2 separate regions of the Homo sapiens genome follow, and region 1 is linked to region 2. The links are contacts of gene promoters, found by promoter capture Hi-C in blood cells and fetal thymus (Javierre and others, 2016). All regions are on one chromosome and are shown on one strand. Each heading gives the region's core, a stretch centred on a gene start or on the middle of the fragment in contact. The rest is flanking DNA. Distances are from core to core; before and after follow the strand shown. Region 1 overlaps MTHFSD (methenyltetrahydrofolate synthetase domain containing). Region 2 holds the start of C16orf95 (chromosome 16 open reading frame 95).

Region 1 (4,690 bases), core at 1,983-4,482, 770 kb before region 2:
GTAGTCCACAGTGATGTCGTGCTCCTCAACAAGCTCTTCAGGGATGTCCACGACCTGGGGGAAGAGAGGAGGGATAAAGGGGCTGCTGGGAATGCCACTGCAGTCGTGCACACTGCCCCGCTCGGTGGGAACGTGAGGCTGGCTAGAGAAGCACCCCCAAATCCACTCTGGGGCTAAGGCTTAGCCGCTGTACCACTAGCAAGTCCAGCCCTGGCTGATCCACACCACTCGCCACACAGCATGGTTCAGAAGCAGATGAGTCTCCTTCCCCACCCCCTGCTCCCTCAGAAGAGAATGGCAGTGGCTCTGCTCAGCCCATTCATAAGGAGCACCTGGCAGTCGTGGACGATGGTGACCACCGGCGTCTCCTTGCTGACGGCGCCCATGGATACCATCATGGCATATTCCAGATCGGCGTAGCCTTCTCCCTTCCCGATTCTCCAGCCTAAGAGACAACCGAGAATCAGTATCGCTGTGCGGTCCGGGGCATCGCTGAGAAGTGGATTTTCCATCAGGTCCAGTGGAAGAAGAAACTTGAACCCAATATCCCGAGCTAATCTATAGAAATTTTCACAGAAATGCCCACCAAATGCCCACAAGCAGCCCACACTGACGATGGACTTTTGGGCATTCAACAGGAATAACAACACGGCCAATGTCAGGTGGTGAAACTACAATGACGTGAACACTGGACCGTTCAAGCATGTCACAAAGGGAAACAGATCACACTCATGTCAGCTTTATGTTAGCAAGACTCATACTTAAAAAGAATGAAAAGAGCAGTTCTCAAAAAGACTAAAAACAAATTCCCACTGAAAGCAAAACATGTTTAATCAACTTACCTCGGAGGGAAAATCGCTGCTCTGAAGTCAGGAGTGTGTGAGGGCATGGCCTTGTTTCTTCAAAAGCACTGAATACTCACCACTAGATACCAGGTCCTGAGGGACGGTTTAAGCAGTACTAAAGCGTTTTGCAAATTTGTAATTAGTGGCACAACAAAAGGATTATCTGAGCCTAAAAGAGTAGCTAAGATGAAATCGAGGTTTAACAGCCTCTCTAGCCAAATCAGCTATTCAGAGACAAAAATGCAGGAAGACAGGATACATCAAATGCCTTCTGGCCCCCATGGAGAAGCTACAATTCCGCTTATGAGAAGCCTGAGGCACTTCAGAAACTGAGGCCAGCGAGTGCCACCAGCAGCATCACCCGCAGAGCACCCGCATCACTGCTGCCGTGTCTAAGACTCACATCTGATCAAGCTACTTTGACAATTCAAAACCTTCAACTGTGCATGCAGAGAAACAAGAGAAAGAAAATTCAACAGAAAAATAGCAAAGGATATGAACAGTTCACAGAAAATGACAGGCAGATAAGCCGCAAACATGAAAAATGCTTGACTGCCTCCTAATTAGGTGCAAATCAAAGGCAAAGGAGATGCTAGTCACTGCTCACTAGCGGACTGCTCAAAGTCAAAGCTGGCTCACTCCAGCTAGGAACAAGGAAGCGGGAAAAGAGGCCAGGCACCACTGTTGAGGGCCGAAAGTGAGCGGCCCTTCTGGTGGCAACATCAAGGCTGACAATCCACCCTTCAGTTCAGCAACTCCCCTCCGAGGCATTGGCCCCCATGGATAGCCCCAAAGGTGCACCTAGACTATCCCACAGAACATACTTCACTCCAACATGGTCTGTAAGAGAAAAGACCAAAGCCAAATCTGGAAATAACTCATAACGTATGCATCCATCGGCGGGGGTGGGCTTCAGTTACTGAGGTGCAGTCACGTGAGAACACCGTGCAGTTCCTCAACACGGGCCCAGGAGGCCAGCCCGCAGTGCTGACAGGAAGGGGCTCTAAGACACAGTCTCCAGCAAGGCACGGAGCTCTGTGTGTGCCACCGTCCCTTCTGTGAATGCAGAAAAGGGATATCTATACATCTATACCTAAAAACTATAAGACAGGGGTTCCCAACTCCTGGGCCACAGACCAGTACTAGTCCATGGCCTGTGAGGAACCGGGCCACACAGCACGAGGTGGGCAGTGAGAGAGTGAAGCTTCATCTGTATTTACAGCCGCTCCCCATCACTCTCATTACTGTCTGAGCTCCGCCTCCTGTCCGATCAGCTGCGGCATTAGATTCTCACAGGCGTGCAAACCCTCGTATGAATGGTGCATGCCAGGGATCTAGGTTGCGTGCTCCTGATGAGAATCTAATGCCTGCTGATCTGTCACTGTCTCTTATCACCCTGAGATGGGACCGTCTAGTTGCAGGAAAACAAGCTGAGGGCTCCCACTGATTCTTTATTATGAGTTGTATAATTACTCTGTGATTTATTATGATGTAGGAATAACAGAACTAAAGTACACAATAAATGTAATGTGCTTAAATTATCCTGAAACCGTCCCCTCCCTGGTCCATGGAAAAATTGTCTTCCATGAAACCGGTCCCTGGTGCCAAAAAGTTGGGGACCACTGCTATAACATATCTGTGTCTCGGCAAAAGAAACTATCATCAGAGTGAACAGAGAACCTACAAAATAGGAGACAATTTTGCAAACTATCTGTCTGACAAAGGTCTAATATCCAGAGTCTGTAAGAAACTGAAACAAATTTACAAGAAAAAAACCCAAACAACCCCAATAAAAAGTGGGCAAAGGGCATGAACAGACACTCCTCGAAAGAAGACATTTATACAGCCAACAAACATGGAAAAAAGCTCAACATCACTGATCATTAGAGGAATGCAAATCAAAACCACAATGAGACACCACCTCATGCCAGTCAGAATGGCCACAGATGCTGGCAAGGCTGTGGAGAGATAGGAACACTTTTACACTGTTGGTGGGAAGGTAAATTAATTCAACCATTATGGAAGACAGTGTGCTGATTTCTAGAGGACCTAGAACCAGAAATACCATTTGACCTAGCAATCCCATTACTGGGTATATACCCAAAGGATTATAAATCATTCTACTCTAAAGACACGTGCACATGTAGGTTCACTGTAGCACTATTCACAATAACAATGACATGGAATCAACCCAAATGCTCATCAACGATAGGCTGGATAAAGAAAATGTGGTACATATACACTATGGAATACTATGCAGCCATAAAAAGGAATGAGAGCATGTCCTTTGCAGGGACATGGATGGAGCTGGAAAACATTATCCTCAGCAAACGAACGCAGGAACAGAAAACCTAGCACTGCATGTTCTCACTCGTAAGTGGGAGCTGAACAATGAGAACATATGGACACAGGGAGGGGAACAACACATACTGGGGCCTGTCAGGGCAGGGGCAGTGGGAGGGAGAACATCAGGTAAAATAGCTAATGCATGCTGGGCTTAATACTTAGGTGATGGGTTGGTAGGTGCAGCAAATCACCATGGAACACGTTTACCTATGTAACAAACCTGCACATCCTACACATGTATCCCGGAACTTAAAAAAAAAAGATATCTGTGTCTCACACGCATGCTACTATGTACAACGTCTACACTAGGAACTCCTAATGGGGCAGCTGGGAAGGAACAGGGAAGACTTATGGTGCAGCTTTCTGTGCTGTTCAATTTTCTAAGCAGACACATGGTTACTTTACTACTTTACACAGGGGGTTAGCTAAACGATGAAACTTACGAAGTGTTACTTTCTTCTTTATACATCCCTGAACCTGATGATATTTTCCAAGAGGGGACCTTTGCTGATTTCCCACCACCAAGAGCCCAAGTCCCATCATCTGGCCTCAAGGCTGCTGAGAAGGGGCCGCAACCTAGTAAAGGGCCTGCTGCCTGAGGACCCTTCAGTCCCCTCTGCCTGGACTGTGGCCGGCATGCAGGAGCCAGCCCTGAGGCCGCTACTGAGGAGATGCCCCCTCCAGGCTGGCACGTCCCTCCTCAGACTCCCCTTCCCCCTCCCGTCGGTCCTGACTTGTGTCCAGCACTGAGCACGTCACGTCCTGTCCTGGTCCAGCTCTCGTGTCTGGCCCACCCACACACCATGCACTTAAAGACCACCCAGTGCCTGCCTGGCACACAGCAGGTGTAGCAGGTATACCAGAACAGTGCGCTCCTGAGTCCCCAGCCCCGATGACACAGACGAAGCACCAGAAACTGGGAATGCACTGAAAGCAAAGAATAAAGAACAATGTCCCCACATCAGCTCCAGTGGTGGCTGGGAAAAGAGGGCACCCTGAAGCTGGAGACAGCAAGAGGTGGTGTGGTGACCCTGCCCTCTTAGCAAGGGCCCCCTGGCCTTGTGGACCGAGAGCAGCCTGCCTCACATGCAGCGTGGCAAAGCACCAGGCCTGAGAAGAAGTCTCGGACACACCACGTTGTTCAGGAGTCTCGGACACACCACGTTGTTCAGGAGTCTCGGACACACCGTGTTGTTCAAGAGTCTGCTGCTTCATAATAAAAACAAAGCTTGGAACCTACTGTTTTTCCATTTGCTGGAGTCCCTCCAAAACCAACTATTTACTGACATACTGAAAAGAAATTAAGCTCCAGCTCACTCAAGAACAGAGAGAAAACCTTTCACCACCTGAACAGAGAGTTATCTCACTTTGTTTTTCCTGCTAAGAAAAGTGAAAATGCTGTACACATGTTGGGCTGGGGCCAGAAGCGGGTGGGCTGAGCCAATTCTTCACCTCTGAAAAATGCAGCGGCTTCGGAGACCAGGTAAGCGCATCCAGAA
Region 2 (4,783 bases), core at 1,944-4,443:
ACAAAGCCTTGTACACAAATGTTCATAGCAGCTTTGTGTGTAACACATAAGAAGTAGAAACAACCCAAATGTCCTTCTGGGCGAATGAATAAACTGTGGCCTATTCACATAATGCAGCATTACTCAATAATAAAAAGAATGACTATTGATGCCCATGATCACATAGAAGAATCTCAAAATAATTATGCCAAGTGAAAGAAGCCAGACAAAAGAGTACAAAGTCTATGACCCCATTTATATAAAATCATCAAAAATGCAAATTAATCTACAGTGACAGAAAGCAGGTCAGTGGTTGCCTGGGGATGTCAGGGTATGGAATGTTGGGTAAAGTTACAAAGGAGCCCACGGACATGATTAAGGGTTGTGTATATGCTCATTATCTTGATGGTGGTGGTGGGTTCAGGGGGGAATACCTACGGCAAGACTTACCACATTGTACATTTGACACACGTGCAGTTTATCACATGCCAATCAAACCTCTAGAAGTCTAGTTTTTAGAAAAAACTGTTTAAAAATCACAGATCCTTTTATAGTTCATAAGCATGATAACTGGGTACTCATGCACATGTGTGAGGTGTGCCTCCCTCAGACCTTGCTACAACGACAGCACATTACCCATCTGACATGAAAATAAATAAATAAATAATATCAAACTGTCTCCCTGAAATGTTAAAATATCCATTCATATAATACTTCTAATTCTGAGGGGTGACTGGTCAACTGACATTCACCCTGGACCCTAGGGGAAGACCTCCTGGTTCAAGTCACCTACCTGCTTTCGGGGTCTCAGGGACAGAGGGACCCAGTAAGGCAGTGCTGCTTCCACCCTGGACACAGGCAGGCGGCCCCCGAATCTGGTCTGGCATTCACAGCAGATGGCCCAGGGGCCAGGGTGCATCTGAGTAAGATCCAGAAATGACAGAACTGAGCTTGATGCTGCATTTGCAGGGAGACAGGAGGCTCTCAAGCACAGTAGATCCGTGCTCAGGAAGATGGTGTCCGGGGGCAGGGTCCCCAGCTCCTACTGCAGCTTGGAAAGAGGCAGGCTACCGTGGCTCGCCCTGAGGCCTCCAAGGTCATTTGGAGGGGGATCCCCCGGAGCTTGCAAATCAGGTGCGCTGGGATTCTCAGCTGCTTCCTGCTGTGCTACAATGAGCAAGTCTCGTGGTCCCCTCTGAAAATGGGCATGTACAAGCAGCTCTAGAGCTTATGCGCACATGAGTGCTGCCTTTATGGCCATCTGTCACACTCTGGTGTGCAAGAGCTTCCACATCCATCCCATGTGACCTTCGCAACACCCTCAGGCAGGAAGGAGAGGTGCTGCCATCACCTCCAGGGGCACACGGAGAAGCTGATGCCCAGAGCAGGTATATTAGGTGGCCTCCTGAACTCTGAGGTGTTGTGAGGGCCTGGGAGGTGTTCTGGAGGCCCAGGGATAGCTCCTGCAACCACACTTTTGTGTTTGGAGGATTCTCTCATGGGATGCAGCTTCTGGACCCACATTCCCTGCTCTCCTCACCCCACAGGGATATGTTGGGGTCAGGGCCAGTGGCTGAGGATTTGCTTTCCTTACCGAATGACGGGGGAGGCACACTTCTTTCTTGTAGGTTTGAAATGTGCTATTCCTAGAAGAGAAGAACAGAAAAGCTTAGGGTTTGTGTAAACTAGGGGGCAGGGATGCTAGAGCACAGGCCTGGACCTGTCTTCTCAGAACTGACTCTTAATAATAAAGCCCACGGGTGGTGGGGATGGGGGGATCCTCTGAGCCCAAGAAGAGTGAGAGGGTGACATCAGAAGCAGGCGTGTGCTAGCTCATGCGTGAATGTCTAGGGGCTCCTGGGGGCTGGCTGTCATGGAATCCTGCATTCCCAAGCCAACCAGCTTCAAGCTGACTCCAGCTACACTTGTGCTTGGAGCATCAGAAAAGACAGGAGCATTCCAACCTGCTGAGAACTTTCCAAGACATGTAGCTGCCAATCACATCACCTAGGATGATCTGTCAGACACCCTCAACTTACTGAAATACTGAAGAAAAAACATCGTCAAACTGTCCATTAATGAACCTCCTTCCACTATAAAAACCCGGGTGCTTTGTCTCTGGGATGACAAAGCACTTGGGGTTACACAGCCTGTGTGGCTCTTCCCTGTTCCACTCCCCAACAAACTGCTTGAATGTTGGCTGGATGAAGCGTCTCCAGTGGGTGCAAAGCCCTGCTTCCCTGACAGTAGTGGGTCAAAGTGCTTTGTATGTGGAAACCGTAAGAGCGATATAAGTGTTTTTGGGTTTCATTGTCATAATAACCATTATTATTATTGCTATTTTTGTGAGAGTAATAGGTTCACGCATCAACTCTCCCAGATAATGCTTGAAAACAGAGGATGGGGCACTGCCCTCCACAGCATCCGAGGCCCCTTCTGGTAATGACAGCACTGCTATATTCCTGGTGGGGAGGGGGGGGGCCACAGCCATCTCAGTCCTTGTAGTTCAGGTGGGCCAAACTCACCACTGCCCAGCCTGGAAAGCTGGGAAAAAAAAGAATCTCCTTTTTGTTGAGGTTGATAATCTGATAACATGTAAACCTCAGGAGGTCCTGGTGATCATCTTGCCTCCACAAGGGAAGCCAGCAAAAAGGAAGGAAGCTGAGAGATGGAGAGAAACCTTCCAGGACCATGGTCAATGTGTACCTGGATACATCCATGCCTGAAGGCCTACTTCTGACATTTTCAGTTATGTGGAACCATCAGTTGCGTTTTTGTTAAGCCAATGTAAGTGAGGTTCCTGTGGGTGGCGGTCAAGAGTTCTGCCTGTGCATAGGTCATGGAGCAATGCCGGGCCGGGAACTCACAGGCGAGGTGTCGGGTAGCCGCGGGCAGGATTCAGGACTCACTTGCCTGCCATCCTGCGCGCTGGGTGTGAGTGCCAACCTGCAGAGCCCGACGCACCCCGCGCCCGGCCCCCCGGCAGCAGCGCCTGAGGCTGCTCCAGTGGCCTCATGATGATGGTGACAACGCCGCGGGGACGGTGGGGACCGGCTCGCACGCATATGGCTTCTTATGGCTGACGCGCCCTTTCACACACACATCGTCCGCAGGCCCTGACGCCCTGGCTCCCGCCTTTCCCTCCTGCCCCAGGAGGAACCCAACCCGAGCTCAACCCCAGCCCCAACCTCAACCGCTCAGAGGAGCCCAACAACGCCCGCGCGCCCGCCCGTCCCGCTGACTAGCCCGCGCCCAGCCAATCAAAATTGGCCTTCTAGGTATGTGACCTTAGCTGGCAGCTGATTGGTCCCTCACGAGAGACGCGGGGTCAGCGGCTCAGAGCGCGGCTGTGTGGGGCTGCGGGGCTCCCGCCATGCCCGCTGGGGTAGGTCCTGCGGACCCCGGCCACTGGAGCCACTCATCATTTCCGACGGATGGGCCGGAGGGGCCGCCGGCCGCCCCAGCCAGGGTCTCGGTAGCCTGCAAGGAGAGAAAGAGGTGGGAGCAGCCCGCGCGGGGCCCTGCGTCTTGCATAGGCGCTTCTGGTAAAATCACTCCTTTATCTCAGATAATGAGTTGGCGCTGGATCGCTGCGTCCTCAGGTGGGGCTCGAATCGTGACTTTTAGAGAAATAGGTTTTCTTTCTTTTTTTTTTTTTTTAACAACATGGGGTTTAAAGGGCGCGGAATTGGAAGCAGTCGTCACCCGGAGGCCTGGGCGTGCAAGCACCGAAGCTCTGGCTGGCCCTGAGCCTCCCCACCCCACCCGCTCTTTTCGCTGGAACGCGTGTACTTTGGGCAGTTGCTGACGTGGAGACAGGACGTATGTCTTCATATTTTAGTAAAACCCAATGCCCTCTGCCTCTCTGATTATGTTCTTTAAGTTATCGCCAGTTCCAATTTGTATTTCTTGGAAACGGTTGGGTCTTCCCTCACTTTTCAGTATTTTCATGTAGACTCAAATACTCTGGATTAATATTTGTATTTGCCCAAACCATCACGAGCACCTCTTACCCTGATGGGCAATACTTCAGTGTGCTGCGTTCTGGCCACAGAGCAAACAGGGTGCTCCCAGGCACTGCCCTCTCGGATTTCTTGCCTTGTTATTTAATCATTAAGATCGTGACCTATGAGCAGGACTGTTTCCAGCCAGCACATACACATGTCCTCTCCTGGCCAGCATCCATGCTGATTAGACGGTGCCCCTGCCATACTAGCTGCCTAATATTTCAGATACCCCACCCCGTGTGTGTGTGTAAATCATGTCACTGCCCTCTTTGTAGCTAATGACAAAATTCCAAGAGTCACCATTAGCCTAGCACATTATGCCTGTCTCATTTCTGCCCACTTTGGAGCACTCGGCTTCTCTGCTGTTTTCCTCCAGAGCACACTGAAACACTGCCATAGCACAGCAGGGCATAGAAGACAGGCTCATGCTCCCCTGGACGCTCAGGCCTTCACCTCGGGCACACTAGGTCTTGTCATTCCATGTCAAGAATAGCTCTTCACTGCCCTCACCCACCCAAGAATGGCTAAAATTAAAAGGACTGACAATACCTAGTTTGTCGAGGATGTCACAGCTGGAACCCTCATACATGGCTCATGAAATTGATAAAACCACATTGGCAAACTGGTAGTATTTACAAAACCTAAACATATGAATACCTGATGACCAACTAATTCCTCAACTCACCCAAGAGAAATGAGAGCTTATGTGTACCAGAAGACATGAACAAAACTACCCACAGCAGCTTTCTTCCTGATGGCCCCAAACTGGAAATGATCCAGATGTCCATCCATAGGAA

What was found. Contacts are between HindIII fragments. The CHiCAGO score rates a contact against its expected background, and 5 or more counts as called.
Region 1: a fragment that was not itself captured here is called in contact with the fragment with the promoter of C16orf95 in region 2 in 1 of 17 cell types (M0 macrophages); the score reaches 5.9 in M0 macrophages.

Annotation. Positions count from the first base shown.
Region 1 is chr16:86,541,769-86,546,458 of GRCh38, forward strand. It overlaps MTHFSD (methenyltetrahydrofolate synthetase domain containing), which reads right to left. Exons shown (of 8, transcript NM_001159377.2): 6 at 333-445; 7 at 1-54. Among named protein-coding and RNA genes, the nearest start is that of MTHFSD, 11 kb to the right of the region's middle. The HindIII fragment of the contact is 2,370 bases long and covers 2,048-4,417 here.
Region 2 is chr16:87,314,199-87,318,981 of GRCh38, forward strand. It overlaps C16orf95 (chromosome 16 open reading frame 95), which reads right to left and starts at 3,194. Exons shown (of 7, transcript NM_001195124.3): 1 at 2,893-3,194; 2 at 1,574-1,625; 3 at 773-898. The coding sequence starts at 3,044. It overlaps C16orf95-DT (C16orf95 divergent transcript), which reads left to right and starts at 3,311. Exons shown (of 2, transcript NR_135180.1): 1 at 3,311-3,524; 2 at 3,659-3,845. It overlaps LOC124903787 (small nucleolar RNA U13), which reads left to right and starts at 522; the gene lies at 522-625. RefSeq lists enhancers at 1,015-1,515, 2,772-3,221. The HindIII fragment of the contact is 6,644 bases long and covers 1,646-4,783 here.